Linked DNA regions of Homo sapiens: region 2 is linked to region 1. Evidence: promoter capture Hi-C in 16 types of primary human blood cells and fetal thymus (Javierre and others, 2016). All regions are on one chromosome and are shown on one strand. Each heading gives the region's core, a stretch centred on a gene start or on the middle of the fragment in contact. The rest is flanking DNA. Distances are from core to core; before and after follow the strand shown. Region 1 holds the start of TNFAIP8L2 (TNF alpha induced protein 8 like 2). Region 2 overlaps GABPB2 (GA binding protein transcription factor subunit beta 2).

Evidence for each region. The method cuts DNA at HindIII sites, captures the fragments that hold promoters and counts their contacts. A CHiCAGO score of 5 or more calls a contact.
Region 2: a contact is called between a fragment that was not itself captured here and the fragment with the promoter of TNFAIP8L2 in region 1, in 6 of 17 cell types (megakaryocytes, endothelial precursors, M2 macrophages and 3 more). The highest score is 12.0, in megakaryocytes.

The regions. Positions count from the first base shown.
Region 1 is chr1:151,155,216-151,157,923 of GRCh38, forward strand. TNFAIP8L2 (TNF alpha induced protein 8 like 2) reads left to right here and starts at 1,434. Exons shown (of 2, transcript NM_024575.5): 1 at 1,434-1,507. TNFAIP8L2-SCNM1 (TNFAIP8L2-SCNM1 readthrough) reads left to right here and starts at 1,434. Exons shown (of 7, transcript NR_144937.2): 1 at 1,434-1,507. It also overlaps a transcript of LYSMD1 not described here. The HindIII fragment of the contact is 1,285 bases long and covers 160-1,444 here.
Region 2 is chr1:151,089,126-151,091,875 of GRCh38, forward strand. GABPB2 (GA binding protein transcription factor subunit beta 2) reads left to right here. Exons shown (of 9, transcript NM_144618.3): 3 at 1,281-1,448. Among named protein-coding and RNA genes, the nearest start is that of GABPB2, 20 kb to the left of the region's middle. The HindIII fragment of the contact is 4,511 bases long and covers 1-2,750 here.

The DNA.
Region 1 (2,708 bases), core at 184-2,683:
GACTTCTTCCCCATCTCTGGCTATTAAGTAGTTGAATCTATCTTTCCAAGTCTACCTCTTCAGCCCTATCATAATTAAGCTTCTTTACTCTCAAAATTATTTAAATCTCCATTAAAGTTAATGGCATTGTTTGACTAGTATTACTGTTCTTTATGTTTAAGCTTATTTCCCTCGCCAGATTCCCCATAAGATTCTTGATAGCAAGTGTTTTTGTCTCATTCAACAACTGTGACTTCCAGGATGGGTGCAGTGGCTCACGCCTGTAATCCCAACACTTTGGGAGACTAAGGTAGGAGGATTGCTTGAGCTTAGAAGTTCAGCCTGGGCAACATAGTTAGACCCTCCTCTCTACAAAAAAAAGGAAGGCTTGTGAGCCTCTGGTCCCAGCTACTTGGGAGGCTGAAGTAGGAAGAGCTCTTGAGCCCAGGAGGTCAAGGCTGCAGTCAGCTGTGATGATGCCACTGCACTGTGGCCTGGGCGACAGAGTGAGACCCTATCTCAAAAACAAAACAACAAACAAACAAACAAAACCCAATTGTGGCTTCCCCTCATTTTGTATCCCTTTAGCAGCTACAAAGTAGCTACTACAGTAGCCTACTCAGTAGGCCCTGCGGGGTGCGTTGGCTCACACCTGTAATCCCAGCACTCTGGAAGGCCAAGGTGGATCACCTGAGGTCAGGAGTTCAAGACGATCCTGGCCAACATGGTGAAACCGTCTCTACTAAAAATACAAAATAAGCCAGGCATGGTGGCACAGGCCTGTAATTTCAGCTACTTGGGAGGTTGAGGCAGGAGAATCACTTGAACCCGGGAGGCAGAGGTTGCAGTGAGCCGAGATCACCCCATTGCACTCCAGCCTGGGCAACAAGAGCAAAACTCTGTCTCAAAAAAAAAAAAAAAAAAAAAAAAAAAGGCAACTCAGTAGGCTTGTTCCTCTACGCTAGTGATTCAGTGCTGTGCTGGCACCTGCTGGTCACCTGTGGTGCAGCAGCCCTGGTCCCAGCACCTTCCTCCCTTCAGTATTAAGGGTTGTGACAGTCTGTGCTCTTACCTGGCAATCACTGGAATAATATATTAAATACTTGCCCCACAGCACCACCTTTCAATCTTCAGAACTTTTCCCACTGACCTCCTACCCCAGAAATTTGGGCTTTACATCCTTCCCAGTACTGTAGAAATGTAAGGACAGGATCTTCAGGAACTGGGCAGCAAGAAAAGAAAGAAGCAATTTGAGAGTGGAGGATGCAAATCCCTTTCCCCCCTTCAAAGAATTGAGACTATTTCCAACAGAATTCCACTCTTTTTGACCTTTGTCTTATTTCTAGGTTGCTCTTGGGCCATAGGCCTTCTTGGTGACAGAAGTGATGAACCGGAGGTTAAGCAGAGAGTAGGTAGGCGGGGCTCAAGGGGTGGGGCCAAGCCAAAGGGCTCTCACACTAAGTGAAGCTTCTCCATTCTGTAAGCTTTCCGGGAACATCCAAGGCAAGACTGGCACCCAGCACAGCAGGTGAGGGACCGGCAGTGACAGAATGGTAGACTTTAGGGGTAATGGTGGCAGAGGAATCTCTAGCTCTTTCAGTCTTAGCTTTTCATATTGTGAAACTCTCGCTTGTACAATTCTTGGGTCCTTTGTAGAGCTTAGCTTAGTTTTTCTGGTGGCAAGGCAGCCTCTGAAAGACCTGGTTTTGGATGCGGTGGGGGCAGGGCTGAGGGATGCAGGTGGATCCACATCCATATGGATGTGTGCGAAATGCAAGGAAATCTTAGGAAACAAGGAGATAGATGGGTAAGGGCCAGAGGGAGAGTATGGCCAGGCCAGAGGATCATAGGGAGGACCCAGACAAGAGAAAAAGGGAGACTGAAACAGGGAGAGAGGGAGAAGACAGCGGAATAAATGTGAGACGGCAATGGGGGCAATGGAGAGCTGGGTAACAGGAAGGCCAAGGAGGAAGGAAGGCTCACATGGAGCAATCTCCTCTTCCGGCTGGGGAGCATGGTCCAGAAAGCCCCAAGGCAAGCTGGGAGCAAAGCAAGGTTCAGGTTTCCACTGGAAGGATTCAGCTGGGGAAAAAAACCCCCACAGTCTCCACCTCCTCTGCCTCTTCAGACTCCCATTTTGGTTTGGGGGAGAGGGCGAGGCTGCTCCTCACTGCGGTCACAGCCACATCCTGCAGAGCAGAGGAGGGGGAAGTAAGAAGCAAAACAACCAGAAGAACCACAGGCGAAGACCATGGGGAGAGAACCCTGGACACATGGAGCTGATATGCCACCAAGAGGGTCCTGAGTTCAGTGTAGCAGAAGGCTCAGACCTTCAGGACTGCCTGCCCTTCTTGAGGTGTTGGCTTCTCGTGCTTCCTCAGTGTGCTTTAACCACACTGGGAGCATTCCGGGGAAGGAGGTTTCTCTGGATTATTTGGTTTGAAGCCCATCTTTATAATTTACTAGTGACTTTGGCCAAATTGCTATATTTCTCTTCGCTTCAGTTTTCTCATTGCAAAATGGGGATACCTACCCTAACCTTACACAGGATTGGGAAGGCTAAGATGACTGACGTAAAGCACTTGCATATAGTAGGTTCTCAGTAAATGTTAGTTATTACTCCTATTAGGATTCCTGGGATGCTTATGCTTCTTACTTTAAAGGAAGTATAGTGCACTAGCTGCCACTGGCTTTGGGGGCCAAAAAATGAGTTGCGTTTGATCTTGGGT
Region 2 (2,750 bases), core at 181-2,680, 66 kb before region 1:
GTGGGCTTTCTTAGCAGTCACAGATTTTGTACACATTGCCTAATTTTAACAATTTCAATGAATGAGTGACCTCTATTCTGGACTGATTAATTGAGAGGCCAACAGATTATTAGCATTTCACAAAAAGAAAGAAAAGGAAACCCATGAAATTAGCATTTCTATAAATAGACCTGGAAAGAACAATGTGAATTAAATTCAGTCAGGCAGAGAGGCTAAATATATGAAAAAGCAAAGAATAAACTAAACAGGCTTAAAATAAAGAGCATAACAAAAAGAAGGGAATAGAGCTCTGGCCAAAGTGGATGCTGATAGATAACTCTTACAAGATTTACACTGGGATGACAGACTTACTTATTGCTGTTGATACATCATTGCTAAATTTTTATTGCGTCTTCATCTCATCATTCATTTTGCCCTGCTTTACTGTGGCAAAAAACTTTTCTTCCAGTCAGTCAAATTTGTACCTCAAATTCCACATGTAACTTTCTAGTCTCTACCCTTTTTCTTTTTTAAAATTTACTTTATTTATTTATTTTTTAATTTATTATGAGATAAGGTCTCTCTGTGTTGCCCAGGCTGGTCTTGATCTCTTGGGCTCAAGCAGTCCTCCTGCCTTGACCTCCCAAAGTGCTGGGATTGCAGGCATGAGCCACCACATCCAGCCTGATCCTTTTTTTGTTTGTTTTAACCTTCTAGACGTTGCGTAAAGTCACGTCCTTTAGGGAATCTTAACTGATAAATCCACCTGACATAAAGCCATTATACTTAGTACTTATTCAATTGGTGGTATATTTATTTGTCCATTAGCATGTTAATTTTTTTTTTTTTTTGAGACGGTGTTTCACTCTGTCGCCCAGGCTGGAGTGCAGTGGCACAATCTCAGCTCACTGCAACCTCTGCCTCCCAGGTTCAAAGCAATTCTCCCTGCCTCAGCCTCCTGAGTAGCTGGGATTACAGGTGCCCACCACCACGCCTGGCTAACTTTTTTTGTATTTTTTAGTTGAGACGGGGTTTCACCATGTTGGCCAGAAGAGTCTTGAACTCCTGACCTCAGGTGATCTGCCCACCCTGGCCTCCCAAAGTGCTAGGATTACAGGTGTGAGCCAGTGCACCTGGCCCCTGGCCTTTAATTTGTAAATTTAAGCATTTTTTCAGTTTTATCTGCCCAACCAGATTCTCTCTTGAAGGACAAGAACCATAGCTTGTTCATTTGTATCTCTCCAGTAACGATCTAGGACTCTGCACACAGTGGATATTCAATGAGCATTATTTTTCCACAGCTTGGAACATCACCCCTCCACCTTGCAGCTCAATATGGTCATTATTCCACAGCAGAAGTACTCCTTCGAGCAGGTGTTAGCAGGGATGCCCGGACTAAAGTAGACAGGACCCCCTTGCACATGGCTGCAGCCGATGGACATGCGCACATCGTGGAACTGCTTGTTCGGGTAAAGCAAGAATAGGGGCAAGGTTATGTTGTTAAAAAGGCATCCACTTTCCTGTTTTCTTACTTAAATGGGTACTAGGAAATGACTTGGGAATGATTAAGTTTAGGACAGTTATAGCATTAAGTTGCATCTCCAGGAGTCTTCATGGCAGGCCGGGTGCCTATAATCCCAGCACTTTGGGAGGCCGAGACGGGTGGATCACAAGGTCAGGAATTCGAGACCAGCCAGACCAACATGGTGAAACCCCATCGCTACTGAAAAAAAGCAAAAAAAAATTAGCAGGACGTGGTGGTGCGCGACTGTAATCGCAGCTACTCAGGAAGCTGAGGCAGGAGAATCGCTTGAACCTGGGAGGCGGAGGTTGTGGTGAGGCAAGATCACGCCACTGCACTCCAGCCTGGACAACAGAGCAAGAATCCGTCTCAAAACAAAACAAAACAAAACAAAAAAACAAAAAAACAAAAAAAAAAACCTTCATGGCTATGAGGAGTCTGTTTTCTTATTTATTTTTTGTTTGTTTGTTTGATTTTTGAGAAGGAGTCTTGCTCTTGTGGCCCAGGCTGAAGTGCAGTGGCACGATCTCTGCTCACCACAACCTCTGCCTCCTGGGTTGAAGTGATTCTCCTGCCTCAGCCTCCCGAGTAGCTGGGATTACAGGCGCCCGCCACTACACCCAGCCAATTTTTGTATTTTTAGTAGAGACGGGGTTTCACCATGTTGCCCAGGCTGGTCTCAAACTCCTGACCTCAGGTGATCCACCTGCCTTGGCCTCCCAAAGTGCTTGGATTACAGATGTGAGTCACCGCACCTGACTGTTTTCTAATTTATTAAAACAATTTTTTTTTTTTGAGATGAACTCTCAGCTGGGTGCGGTGGCTCACTCCTGTGTCTCAAAAAAAAAAAAAAAAAAAAAAAAAAAAAGATGAAGTCTCGCACTATCGCCCAGGCTCGAGTGCGGTGGCACAATCTTGGCTCATTGTAACCTTCGCCTCCTGGGTTCAAGCGATTCTCCTACCTCAGCCTCCCAAGTAGCTGTGATTACAGGCGCCCACCACCATGCTCAGCTAATTTTTTTTTGTATTTTTAGTAGAGATGGGGTTTCACTGTGTTGGCCAGGCTGGTCTCAAACTCCTGACCTTGTGATCTGCCTGCCTCGGACTCCCAAAGTGGTGGAATTATAGGTGTGAGCCACCACGCCCGGCCCTAAAACAATTTTTTAAATTTGAGACAGGGTCTCACTCTTTTGTCCTGGCTGGAGAGCAGTGGCATGATCATAGCTCACTGCAGTTTTCAACATCTGGG